2 separate regions of the Homo sapiens genome follow, and region 2 is linked to region 1. The links are contacts of gene promoters, found by promoter capture Hi-C in human tissues and cell types (Jung and others, 2019). All regions are on one chromosome and are shown on one strand. The core of a region is centred on a gene start or on the middle of the fragment in contact, and the rest is flanking DNA. Distances in the headings are between cores, read along the strand shown. Region 1 holds the start of TPRX1 (tetrapeptide repeat homeobox 1). Region 2 holds the start of SULT2A1 (sulfotransferase family 2A member 1).

Region 1 (7,125 bases), core at 1,876-4,375:
CAGGGCTGGGTGCCATGGTTCATGCCTGTAATCCCAGCACTTTGAGAAGCTAAGGAGAGCGAATTACTTGAGGCCAGGAGTTCGAGACTAGCCTGGCTAACATGGTGAAACCCCATCTCTACTAAAAATAGAAAAAATTTTTTACTGGGTGTGGTAACACACACCTGTAATCCCAGCTACTCAGGAGGCTGAGGCATGAGAATCACTTGAACCCAGGAGGCAGAGCTGAGATCAATCCACTGCACTGCAGCCTGGGCAACAGAGACTCTGTCTCAAAACAAATACATAAATAAATTTAATTAAATAAAGTATACAATTCAGGCCGGGCACGCTGGTTCACGCCTGTAATATCAGTACTTTGGGAGGCAAGGTGGGCTGGTTGTTTAAACTCAGGAGTTCGAGACGAGACTGGGCAACACGGCAAAACAAAAAGAAAAGAATAATCATAAAGTACAAAATGAAATGGTTTTGGCCGGGCGCGGTGTTTCACACCTGTAATCCCAGCACTTTGGGAGGCCGAGATGGGTGGATCACTTGAGGTCAGGCATTCGAGGCCAGCCTGGCCAACATGGTGAAACCCATTCTCTACTAAAAATACAAAAAGTTAGCTGGGCGTGGTGGTGCATGCCTGTAATCCCAGCTACTTGGGCGACTGAGGCAGGAGTATCACTTGAACCCGGGAGATGGAGGTTGCAGCAAGCCGAGATCACACCACTACTGCACTCCAGCCTGGGTGACAGGGCAAGACGCCATCTCAAAAAAAAAAAATTAAATCGTCTTTAGTCTGTTTGCAGAGTTGTGCCTCCTTCACTACAGTCAATTTTAGAACATTTTTCACCGTCCCCAATAGCTATCTCCATAGCTATTCCCAGTTGGTCCCAATTTTCCCTTCTCCCCAACCCGTAGCAACCACTAATCTGCTTTCTGTCTCTATGGATTTGCCTATTCTGGACACTTTGTATAAATAGAATCGTATATGTGCTTTTGAGTCTGGCGTCTTTCACTCGGCATCATGTTGGCAAGGTTCATCCATGTTGTAGCACGTATCAGAGCTTTATTCCTTTTCATGGTTGAGTAATATCCCATTGTGTAAATATATGACATTTTGGGTTTCTATTTTTTGTGGGTTTTTTTGGGGGATGTTGTTTTGTTTTTTGAGGCAGAGTCTCCCTCTGTCACCCAGGCTGGAGTTCAGTGGCACCATCTCAGCTCCCTGCAACCTCTGCCTCCCGGGTTCAAGTGATTCTCCTACCTCAGCCTAACAAGTAGCTGGGATTACAGGCTCCCGCCACCATGCTTGGCTAATTTTTTGTATTTTTAGTAGAGACGGATTTTCACCATGTCGACCAAGCTGGCCTCAAACTCCTGACCTCAAGTGATTCGTCCACCTCAGCCTCCCAAAGTGCTGGGATTACAGGCGTGAGCCACCGTGCCCAGCCACTTTTATTTATTTTGAGATGGAGTCTCACTCTGTTGCCCAGGCTGGAGTACAGTGGCACAATCTCCACTCCCTGTAGCCTCCGCCTCCCGGGTTCAACCAATTCCCCCGCCTCAGCCTCCCAAGTAGCTGAAATTCAGGTGCTGGCCACCACGCCCAGCTAATTTTTGTATTTTTAGTAGACAGGGTTTCGCCATGTTGGCCAGGCTGGTCTTAAACTCCTGACCTCAGGTGATCTGCCTGCCTCAGCCTCCCAAAGTGCTGGGATTACAGGCGTGAGCCACCGCGCCTGGCCATGCAGCATTTTATTTATCCATGCATCAGTGGATCGATGTTTTCAGCATTTTCTCCTTTTGGGCGATAGTGAATCATGCTGCCGTGAACTTGCTTATATTTAAATGTCTATTTTCACAAAATAGTACCAGTGAGCTTGTTCATCTGTTTATGTCTTTATTGACCAAATAAATAGCCATGGTGCAAAATCTCTGTGGTCACTACTGTGTTCCCAGCATGTCCTGTAGATGAAGCCGGACAATGTGTGCGATGAGGAATCATTGCTGGGGATGCTGCTTTCTACAGCAGAACTCTAAGTAGCAGGTGAAAACAATGAGCGAGGCCCGTGGTAACAATGTCTACGTTTTATTGAATTTTGAAATTGATTGCATGAGTCATTTCTAGTTCCCTGCACCATGAGCCTTGTCAATCTCTCTAATCCCTGAACCCACGTGGGTCCTGCCATGGGGAAATGAGGACAGCCAGGTGTCTGACAGAGAAGACGCATCTCTGAGGGATCCGATCTCTGTAGACCAAGGTCATGGGTCCCCTGTATCATCAGCAGTAGGTTCATTCACTCACAAGGGCAGACCAGCAGCGGTCCATGGGCACGTCCATCAGACCTGTGCCCCCTCCTGATACAGGTCTATGCAGCTTGGAGAGGCTGGGCTCATGTGAACCCAGCACACGAGCCCCGTATATAAACTGGAATAAACCAGCACTGAGGTCATTTACTCTCCAGGAGAAACCAACAGAGGTCTATGTGAATGCCTATCAGAACTTCACCCCATAGGCAAATCCACTACAGAAACCAAACCATTATCAGCAGGGCCAATGTGTACTAAGCTCTGCTTACACCTATAGGCACCTAGGGAGCAATTTTTGGAATGGATAGTAGGGGCCAGAGTGGCCTTGAGGTACCAAAGAGGAGGTTGCAAGGTCATCCAGGAAGGAGGGATAGTGGCTGGACAAGGCAGGCAGCCCAGGAGCCAGGAGGAGTGGGTAGACTCACCGGCATTGGTCACTCGGGGCCCCAGCCCTGGGAAGGAACAAGGATGACTCCTGGGGGCTGGCTGGCGGTGCCTCTCCTGAGATGGGGACCCCAACCACAGGTCACGATGTTGACTCCCCCAACCAAACCCGCATGGAATGCCACCTCACCTGGGCTAGGGCCCATGAGGGTGAAACCAAGGCTGTGTTGTCCACTGAGGTTCTCCAGCTCCTAGCACAGCTCAGCAGGCAGTACCTGATCAGTGATGAAGGATTAATCCATCATTCAACTCCTCCAGGGGGCGGGACTGCAGGGCAGGGTGGGAAAGGGAGGGTCCCGGCAGGGTGGGCCAGGGTGGGCACAGCAGAGAAGTGATTTAAGAGCCAAGCCCTTGTCAGTACACACTTGTGTTTGGGAACAGATCAGGACTCAGGATGCAAGACCCTGGTCATCTCCAAGGTGAGCGGGGACAGAGGTGTGAGGGGTCTGGGCTGATCCTGTGGCTGAGGCTGCAGAGTGCAAATCTGGGCAGCCAGAGAAGGGCTGGGCCTGTGCGGGCGGCTTCCTGTCCTGCAGACGGGGGAGAACTTAGTGGTGTCTGGGAAATGAAAAATCATGCAGCTGGGTGTAGCGTCTCACGCCTGTGATCCCAGCTCTTTGGGAAGCCAAGGTGGGAGGATCACTTGAGCCCGGGACTCTGAAACCAGCCGAGCCAACATAGTGGAGACCCGTCTTTAGCAAAAATACAAAAATTACCCAGGGGTCGTGGTGCACACCTGTGGTCCCAGCTACTCGGGAGACTAAGGCGGGGGGTTCCTTGAGCCCAGGAAGTGGAGGCTGACTTGAGCCGTGATCACATCACTGCACTCCAGCCTGGGTGACAGAGCGAGATCCCCTCCAAGAAAAAGAAAGAAGGAAAGAAATTAAACCATGCAGTTGAGTGGAGCAGAGGACTGGGCAGGTGGCGGCTCCCCTGCAAGTGTCAGGGTCCCTATAACCCTTGGATGGGAGGGGACGGGGCAGCTGGGGAGGGTTGAGCAGGCCTGAGGCAGCCCCGTCTGCTCCGAGGTGAGGCGCCTACGCTGCCTGCCTTCCCAGGAGCTGTTATCGCGCCTATTTCCTAGATGTGGACCCTGAGGCCCAGAGAGGTGCAAGGTCTGGTCTGGATACCAGGCTGCTATCCGCGGTGCCGCCCCAGCCCACACTGCCTGGGCTCCTGGCCTGGTGCAGGGGACGGGGTCCCTAGGGGGGCTGGGGGCTGCCTGGGGGTTTCTGTGACCTGTTTCCCTCCCACCCCCAGGCCCTCCCCTGGCCCTGGACCCTCCAAGGAGACAGCGGCAGGAGCGCACGGTCTACACTGAAAGCCAGCAGAAAGTGCTAGAATTTTACTTTCAGAAGGACCAGTACCCGAACTACGACCAGCGACTGAATCTGGCGGAGATGCTCAGCCTCAGGGAGCAACAGCTGCAGGTCTGACCCCCACCCCCACCCTGCCCGCCCCAGTCACCCCAAGGAGCCTCCCCACCGCTGTCACTCACCGGGGCCTGGCCCGCCCGACCACCTCCCGCCCTGCCACGCAAGGGGTCCCGCCAGTGTAGACCAGGGCTGCATCCTGAGTCCTGTTCCAACTCTATGCTAGCCCAAACTCGCCCACATGATCGGCCCAGGCTGTCCCCCACGGGGTCTCCCGGTGCCCGGACCTCAGGCACCCGTGAGAACCCGCGGTCCCTCCCCTCGAACCCTCCCTGGCCCCCCGGGCACCTGGGCGGCAGACCCCGCTCCTCCCATCCCACCCCACCCTCCTCCCCCTACTTTTCCCTCCCTCTTCCCTCCATTCTCCAGGCCTTGGAGCCGGGGCCCTCTTTTGGTGGGGTGGGGGATGGGGGGCTGTTGAGCACAGGGAGAGGCTTCAGGCTGGCCCCGACCCCAAAAGGCTCACTGGGCCGCGCGAGCCCCTCCTTCACACCTTCTCCCTGTCCCCTCTGCCCCCCAGGTGTGGTTCAAGAATCGCCGCGCCAAACTAGCTCGGGAGCGGCGGCTCCAGCAGCAGCCCCAGCGCGTCCCTGGGCAGAGAGGCCGAGGAGCCCGCGCTGCGCCCCTAGTCCCTGCAGCCTCTGCCTCCGCACCTCAGCGGGGCCCCTCGGGAATCCTTCCAGCGGCGGAACCCACGATCTGCAGCCTCCACCAGGCCTGGGGTGGCCCTGGGTGCAGAGCCCAGAAGGGCATCCCAGCTGCCCTGAGTCCAGGCCCTGGCCCGATCCCTGCCCCAATCCCAGGCCCAGCCCAGATCCCAGGCCCACTCCCTGGCTCAATTCCAGGCCCAATTCCAGGCCCAGCTCAGATCCCAAGCCCGATCCCAGCCCCAATCCCAGGCCCAATTTCAGGCCCAGTCCAGATCCCAGGCCCATTCCGTGGCCCAATCCCAGGCCCAATTTCAGGCCCAGCCCCGATCCCAGGCCCAATCTCAGGCCCATTCTCAGGCCCAAACCCAGGCCCGATCCCAGGCCCAAACCCAGGCCCGATCCCAGGCCCAATCTCAGGCCCGATCCCAGGCCCAATCTCAGTCCCGATCCCAGGCCCGATCCCAGGCCCAATCTCAGGCCCAATCTCAGGCCCAAACCCAGGCCCGATCCCAGGCCCAATCCCAGGCCCAATCTCAGGCCCGAACCCAGGCCCGATCCCAGGCCCAATCTCAGGCCCGAACCCAGGCCTGATCCCAGGCCCAATCCCAGGCCCAATCTCAGGCCCAGGCCCAATTATAGGCCCGATTCCCAGCCCAGCCCAGATCCCAGGCCCAGGCAGACTCCAAGGCCCAGGTCCCATCTTAAGTCCTGGCCGGATGCGAAGCCCTGGCTCACTTCCAGGCCTAGCCCCGATTTTAGGCCCAGGCTCAGGCCCAGGCTCAGGCTCAGTCCCAGCTCCAATCCCAGGCCCAGGATCACTCCCAGCCCCAGCCCCCTTATGGCCTCAGAGCCCCGATGCCTCCGACTTCTTGCCAGACACCCAGTTATTCCCTCACTTCACAGAGCTGCTCCTACCCCTAGACCCCTTGGAGGGATCCTCAGTCTCCACCATGACCTCTCAGTACCAAGAAGGGGATGACTCTATGGGCAAAAAACACTCAGGGTCTCAGCCCCAAGAGGAGGGTGGCTCTGTGAATGAAAATCACTCAGGCCCCAGGTTATTACTGGATTTATAGGGGGCCTGTGCCTGCAAAGTTCTTCAGATCCCAGAGGGCCTGGAGTGGCTGATCTACACTGCTGGTGACTTTCTGCAGTGAATGCATCACCCTTTACCCACCCTGCTGCAGGTGGACATTTGCTGTCTTCACTGTGCAGCTATCACAGGTGGCTCTGCTGTGAATGTGCCTGCCTGTCATTTGAATTGAGCCTGAGCGTTTCTCTGCTGGGATTGGAGTCGCTGCTCACTGGGATATCTGGCATTAGTGGATGCTGCTCGAGAGCTTTCTAAAGGGCTTTTCCCAGGGCTTCTGATGGTCAGCATCTTCCCCAACACTTAGGATTGTGAGACTTTTTAATGTTTGTCGATCCAATGACTTGTGGTTTTGTTGTGGTTGTAATATCCATTTCCCTGATGATTGAGAAGTTAAACCCTCACATGTTAATTGAACCTTAGATATCTTCATAATGTGTATTTGTTTACCCCTTTTCCTTCATTTATTTGAATGTATTCTTATATTCTCTTGGCAATTAAAGTTCTGCAGACACCTTTCCTATTTGCATTTTGTTTCATTAGTATTTCTTGATTTTAATGTTGTCTATTTCACTGCTTTTCAAATTACCTATTGTTTTGGACCAGTTTTGTCTTGTTTTATTTTTCATTTCCATCAGTGGCAGACTGATAATGTTGTAAAACACAATGAAGTTATTAATAAAAATTAAAATGGGCCAGGCACGGTGGCTCATGCCTGTAATCCCAACACTTTGGGAGGCCAAAACAGGTGGATCACTTGAAGTTAAGAGTTTGAGACCAGCCTGGCCAACATGGTGAAACCCCATCTTCACTAAAAAAATAATAATAATACAAAAATTAGCCGGGCATGCTGGCAGGTGCCTGTAGTCCCAGCTACTTGGGAGGCTAAAGCAGGAGAATCACTTGAACCTAGGAGGTGGATGTTGCAGTGAGCTGAGATCGTATCACTGTACTCCAGCCTGGAGTACAGACTGAGACCTTGTCTAAAAAATATAAAATAATCAAATAAAATAAAATGACTTTTACAAAATATCTCAATATATCTGTATTTTCAAATTGACAGAAAAACTTCTAAAAGCTGGTGTTTCTAAAAGTCCTCTGTTACTAATTGTTACTAATTGGAGACAAAGCCCACAGGTGGCACCAGTCTGAGGTGTCCAGCTTACTGCTTCGAAAATTGCTACATTTTCTCACTTTTGCCTTCTAAGAG
Region 2 (6,911 bases), core at 4,018-6,517, 82 kb before region 1:
AGACCAGCTTGGCCAATATGGCAAAACCCCATCTCTACTAAAGATACAAAAATTAGCCAGGTATGGTGGTGCCTACCTGTAATCCCAGCTACTCAGGAGGCTGAGGCAGGAGAATCACTTGAACCCAGAAGGTGGAGGTTGCAGTGAGCCGAGATCACGCCATTGCACTCCAGCCTGAAAAACAGAGTAAGACTCTGTCTCAAAAAAAAAAAAGAAAAGAAAAGCATGTCAACAAAACTCTTTAAGGCTATCATTTTGCCCTATGGCTTCAGATAAAGACTCCAGTGAGAAAGTCAAAACACAATTGAGGCTTCTTCTAAAGTCTTTCCTGAGTCTGCTGCTCTGCTCCCCTTTCCAGAGGTGAAATTGTTCTGCAACTTCCTGCCCGTGGTGTTTACGATCATGGCACCTCTCCCCACTGCTCTGTGCCTGTGAACGTGGCCTGAGCACCATCTCTTCATAATTAGGAATCTGCCTGTTCCTCTAACATTCTGTGCTGAGTGTGTGCAGGCTGACAGATGTAAGTCCCATTCATTCATTCATTCATTCATTCATTCAACTATAGTGTCATCTTCCACATATTCTATAACTTATCCTGTGTTTTAAATTAATCATTCATCCCCAAATTCAACTGGTTTCCCATTTTTCACGGTTGCAATGTTGAAATACACATTTTTTTTTCGAGTTTCCTTGTCCATGTATGAAAATGTCTCCAAGGACATATATCTCTGCAAGTTTCAACTCCAGTTACTTTCTGAAACTCTCCTCCAATACCACCATGCAAATGAACAGATCCCCCAAATTCGAACGGCCTGACCAACAGGTAGTATCATCCCATTTTTTTCTTCTAACGTATAAGAAGTGACAACCTACATGCATTACTGTGATTTTGATTTGTATTTCCCTGATTACAGGTATGATTAATAATCAATTGTATGGTTTAATGGTCCTTTTATTTCCCTTTTCTGTCAAATAATAATATCCTTTGTCTTTTTAAAAAAGATATAAGTATGGCCAGGCGTGGCGGCTCATGCCTGTAATTCTTTGGGAGGTCAAGGCAGGTGGATCACCTGAGATCAGGAGTTCAAGACCTGCCTGGCCAACATGGTGAAACCCCATCTCTACTAAAAGTACAAAACTTAGCTGGGCATGGTGGCACACCTTTGTAATCCCAGCTGCTCAGGAGGCTGAGGCAAGAGGTTCACTTGAACTGGAGAGGCGGAAGTTGCAGTGAGCTGAGATTGCACCACTGCACTCCAGCCTGGGCAACAGAGTGAGACTCCATCTCAAAATAAAATAAAATAAATAATAGGCCAGGCGCAGTGGCGCATGCCTGTAATCCCAGTACTTCGGGAGGCCGAGGAGGGCGGATCACGAGGTCAGGAGATCGAGACCATCCTGGCTAACACGGTGAAACCCCGTCTCTACTAAAAAAATACACAAAATTAGCCGGGCATGGTGGCTGGCACCTGTAGTCTCAGGTACTCGGGAGGCTGAGGCAGGAGAATGGCGTGAACCCAGGAGGTATAGAGCTTGCAGCGAGCTGAGATCGTGCCACTGCACTCCAGCCTGGGCAACTGAGCACGAGACTCCGTTTCAAAAAAAAAAAATTTTTTCACAATTTAAAAAGTACAGGCCCGTCATTTTGCAGACTGTCCCTCATTTGGGGTTCATATAATGTTATCTCACTAATATATTCAGGCCTAGAGTTTATGTTTAAAATATGGCCACATAGAAAGGGAAGAGGGAGAAAAGTCAAGTGACCTCTGGTGACCAAGGTCAACATCATTAGTGCCAGGTCATGTTGCTAATAAGTCCCCTTGATATGGTGTGATGATCATGGTATTTTACCTCTGTGACCTTCCTCTCCAAAACCCATGAACTCATTTGTTGGATGAGAAAACCTGCAATAAATCCCAAAGGAGGAACATTGTACAAAATGCCTCACCAGTGTTCTTCAAAACCATCAAGGTCATCAAAAATGAGGAAAGTCGGCCAGGCGCAGTGGTTCGCACCTGTAATCCCAGTACTTTGGGAGGCCAAAGTGGGCGGATCACCTGAGGTCAGGAGTTCGAGACCAGCCTGGCCAATATGGTGAAACCCCGTTTCTACTAAAAATGCAAAAATTAGCCGGGTGTAGTGGCGCGTGCCTGTAATCCCAGCTACTCGTGAGGCTGAGGCAGGAGAATCACTTGAACTGGGGAGGCAGAGGCTGCAGTGAGCCAAGATTGTGCCACTGCACTCCAGCCTGGGCAGCAGAGCAAGACTCCATCTCAAAAAAAAAAAAAATGAGGAAAGTCTGAGCAACAACTGTCACAGCCAAGAGGAGCCCAAGGAGACAGGATGAGTGTATGTCATGTACTATACAGGATGGGATTTTGGGGCAAAAAAAGGGCATGAGACAGTGAGCCAGGATCATGCCACTGCACTTCAGCCTGGGCAACAAAGAGAGAACTCTGTCAAAAAAAAAAAAAAAAAACACGAGCATGAGATAAAAACTAAGGAAATCCAAATTAAGTATGGACTATGGGAACTCTCTGTACTCTCTTTGCAATTTTTCTGTAAGTCTAAAAGTGCCCTAAAAAATGAGGCGTATTAAAAATATTTTTTTCCTGTTTGGGAAGAGTTTAGAAACTGGAAATACTAGATTCAGGAGAAGGGCAGACTTGCTTGATAAGGGACCGATGTTTGTGCAGTAATTTGGAGTGTGGTTTGTTTTTGAATCTTTAATTAAATCCTGGGATTGGCCGGGCGCAGTAGCTCACACCTGTAATCCCAGCACTTTTGGAGGCCGAGGCGGGTGGATCACGAGGTCAGGAGTTTGAGACCAGCCTGGCCAACATGGTGAAACCCCATGTCTACTAAAAGTACAAAAATTAGCCAGGCGTGGTGGTGGGCGCCTGTAATCCCAGCTACTCAGGAGGCTGAGGCAAGAGAATCGCTTGGACCCAGCAGGCGGAGGTTGCAGTGAGCCCGAGATCATGCCATTGCACTCTAACCTGGGTGACAAGAGCAAGAGTCCATCTCAAAACAATAAATAAATAAATAAAATTAAAAAGTAAAACCTGGGATTATATATCGCTGATAGATATTCACGCTTGAACCACAGTTACTATAAAATGCAAAAATTCTTAATACTGTTATTCTTTGCACTTTTTCTTAATCATTTTATATATATGCATATATATATGCGCATATATATATGCATATATATATACATATATATCTTGTTTAGGTTGTTTTGTACAGATGTGGGCCACCATTGCAACAAAATAAATTCTTTTTGCTCTAAAATATTTATAAAGAAAATACTTAAATGTGATGTACAGGGTGGTAATAAGGGAAAAATCAAGTATTATAAACAAGAATGAAGGCTTTTTTTCTTTCCTTTTTTTTTTTTTTTTTTTTGAGACGGAGTCTCGCTCTGTCGCCCAGGCTGGAGTGCAGTGGCGAGATCTCGGCTCACTGCAAGCTCCGCCTCCCGGGTTCATGCCATTCTCCTGCCTCAGCCTCCTGAGTAGCTGGGACTACAGGCACCCGCCACCACGCCCGGCTAATTTTTTGTATTTTTAGTAGAGACGGGGTTTCACCGTGTTAGCCAGGATGGTCTCGATCTCCTGACCTCGTGATCCGCCCGCCTCGGCCTCCCAAAGTGCTGGGATTACAGGCGTGAGCCACCACACCGTGCCCAGACCAAGAATGAAGGTTTTTGTAAAGATTTCTGTTCAGTGTTTTGCAAGGTAAAATTCTAGGCACGTTTTCCCTGAAGTTATGTGTATGTGAGTATTCTCATTCTTCCCAACTTGCCTTTGAAGAGTGAAAAAACATTATTATCAAGTAGACTTCTATTCAGCTTTTGCTCCTGCCCTGCTGTTTATCCCTTAAGAATGAGTTTCTTGGACTTTCCCAATATGTGATTTTTTTTTCCCATTTAGAATGGTGATTTTAAATGTGTGAGTGCATGCATTATCTTATCTCAGATATTTGCACCCCCAATCCACCCCCATCTCCCTAAAGCTAGAACACTGCCAACTGATCTGTTGTATAGGTCCTTTAGAAACACATAATTAGGCTGGGCGTGGCGGATCACAAGGTCAGGAGATTGAAACCATCCTGGCTAACACGGTGAAACCCCGTCTCTACTAAAAATACAAAAAATTAGCTGGGCGTGGTGGCGGGCACCTGTAGTCCCAGCTACTCTGGAGGCTGAGGCAGGAGAATGGCATGAACCCAGTAGGCAGAGCTTGCAGCAAGCCGAGATCGCGCCACTACACTCCAGCCTGGACGACAGAGTGAGACTCCATCTCAAAAAAAAAAAAAAAACAAACAAACACATAATTAACACTTAAGGTTGGGTGCTGCCAATTCTTTGTGAAAATCCAAATATTATTAAGGAAACAGGGAGATGCCACTACCTCTTGATTTTCCATCTAAAAACATACATGTTTATGCAAACAAATCTTTCCATATTCATAGTGACTTTTCAAGTATTTGAGTCTAAAGATTTTCATCTCACATTTTTATACCGTTTAAATTGTTCACAATTATTACATACACGTCAGCCATCAACTAAAGTTGTACTTTAAAAATTTACTACAATATATACACTGCTAATATTTGTACTTACTCTTTTTTTCTCTAGAGTGGAGGTATAATTGTGTGATACTTCAGAAATACAGATAAATGATTCAAAAAGTCTCAGGGAGAATAATGTTTCTTTGATCGTGAATAACTGATTAGTAATTCTTGCCTATATTTTCCTGAGAGCATATGACAAATGTTTCTAAGGTAACAAGATGAGAACAGATAAAGACTGTGTGGTCTTTTGGATTTGGAGAGACATATTTTAATTTTTAAATGCAGTTACAAATTATAATGTATTCATATTTGTACTTTCTGTTAAAATGCACGATTGCAGGATTATTTAGATTTTGTGTTTATGCTTGATGAAAAGCTTTGTTCTTGTTTTTAAGTTTGCACTCAAACCTTAAGAAATAAATTCACCCATATTATCAAAAAAAATATTTGTCCTCGTGTTTGTTATTCGATCTTGCAGTTCACTCTCAGGAACGCAAGCTCAGATGACCCCTAAAATGGTCTCTAGATAAGTTCATGATTGCTCAACATCTTCAATCTTTTGAGTATGGGTCACATTATACCTCTCTTTATCAGCAAGTAAACTTTACAACAAACATGTGACATGCTGGGACAAGGTTAAAGATCGTTTTATCCTTGCTGTAAAAGCTGATCTGCCTGTAGCTGCCACAGCCTCCAGCGGTGGCTACAGTTGAAACCCTCACACCACGCAGGAAGAGGTCATCATCATGTCGGACGATTTCTTATGGTTTGAAGGCATAGCTTTCCCTACTATGGGTTTCAGATCCGAAACCTTAAGAAAAGTACGTGATGAGTTCGTGATAAGGGATGAAGATGTAATAATATTGACTTACCCCAAATCAGGTAAGGAGGCAGAATCGTGAACTGAGAAAGGCTGTGGTTGTGTTCCTGTCCATTCAGTGCATGATTGGAGTTCTTCCTTTATGTCAGACAGTGTACAATGCTTTAAGGGGAAGAGAGGAATGCCTAATACCATTGACAATCAGAGAAAAGGATTTAGTCAGGAAATTACACAGTAGGATGAGTGTTCAGAGGGGTAATCTAAGGTATTAGGAGAATCCACAGGAGTGAATCCCAAGGCAAATTCAGGTGTTTGTTTGGTGGCAGTGGGAGGGAGGATGGCTGAGGATGACCAATGATGTCCTGAAAGAAGAAATAGCATTTAAATGGAAATGCAAAGAATGAGTATGAAATTACTTGGGGGGAGGGCTATTTTCAGATAGGAGAATCATCAGGGCAATGGCCAGGAACCACAAAAGAGCCAGGCAATCTCAAGGGGCTGAAAGATGAGGATCATATGTCTCTGGGAGTGGGGCTGTGGGTGGAGGGCGGTAAGAGCACTGCGGATGCGGTGAGGATTGAGGCTGAAGACATTGGAAGTGGCATGGCCCTGAGAGGCCAAGAGCAATGGGAACATAATAAGAGGGATTTCAGCAAATAGCCAAAAGATGGAAGCAACCCAGATATCCACTGACAGGTGAGTGAATAAACAAAATGTGGTATATAGCTATAATGGAATGTTATTCATCCTTGAGAAGGAAGAAAATTCTGATGCATGATACAACAGAGATAAACATCAAGGACATTATGCTAAATGAAATAAGCCAGTCACAAAAATACAAATAGTGTGTGATTCCACTTACATAAGGTACCTGGAGTCATCAAGTCCATAGAAACAGAAAGTACACTGGCGGCTGCCAGGGGCTGAAGAGAAGGGTAAATGGGGAGTCGGTGCTGGCTCTGCATAGAGTTTCGGTTTTGCAACACAAAAATCCTCTGGAGATTGGTTGAGCAGCACTGGGAATATACTTAACACTTAACACTACGAAACCGTAGGCTTAAAAGTGGTTGACAGGCTGGGCATGGTGGCTCATACCTGTAATCCCAGCACTTTGGGAGGTCAAGGCAGGTGGATTGCCTGAGGTCAGGAGTTCGACACCAGCCTGGCCAACATGGCAAAACCCCGTCTCTACTAAAAATAAAAAATTAGCCAGGCGCTGTGGCGCACGTCTGTAGTTCCAGCTACTCGGGAGGCTGACCAAGAGAATCACTTGAACCCAGGAGATGGAGGTGGCAGTGAGCCAAGATCATGCCACTGCACTCCAGCCTGGGTGACAGAGCAAGACTCTGTCTCAAAAAAAAAAAAAAAAAAAAAAAAAAGTGGTTGAGAGCTGGCTGCAGTGGCTCACGCCTACAGTCCCAGTGCTTTGGGAGGGCAAGATAGGCAGATTGCTTGAGGTCAAGCGTTCAAGACCAGCCTGGGCAACATAGCAAGGCCTGATCTCTACAATAAA

What was found. The method cuts DNA at HindIII sites, captures the fragments that hold promoters and counts their contacts. A contact is called where the count stands out against the background at its distance.
Region 2: the fragment with the promoter of SULT2A1 here is called in contact with the fragment with the promoter of TPRX1 in region 1 in 14 of the 25 tissues and cell types used here (IMR-90 fibroblasts, aorta, heart left ventricle and 11 more).

Annotation. Positions count from the first base shown.
Region 1 is chr19:47,800,551-47,807,675 of GRCh38, reverse strand. It overlaps TPRX1 (tetrapeptide repeat homeobox 1), which reads left to right and starts at 3,125. Exons shown (of 3, transcript NM_001397346.1): 1 at 3,125-3,161; 2 at 4,003-4,172; 3 at 4,696-6,444. The coding sequence starts at 3,137. The coding sequence ends at 5,901. The HindIII fragment of the contact is 58,136 bases long and covers 1-7,125 here.
Region 2 is chr19:47,884,671-47,891,581 of GRCh38, reverse strand. It overlaps SULT2A1 (sulfotransferase family 2A member 1), which reads left to right and starts at 5,267. Exons shown (of 6, transcript NM_003167.4): 1 at 5,267-5,460. The coding sequence starts at 5,325. The HindIII fragment of the contact is 17,642 bases long and covers 1,005-6,911 here.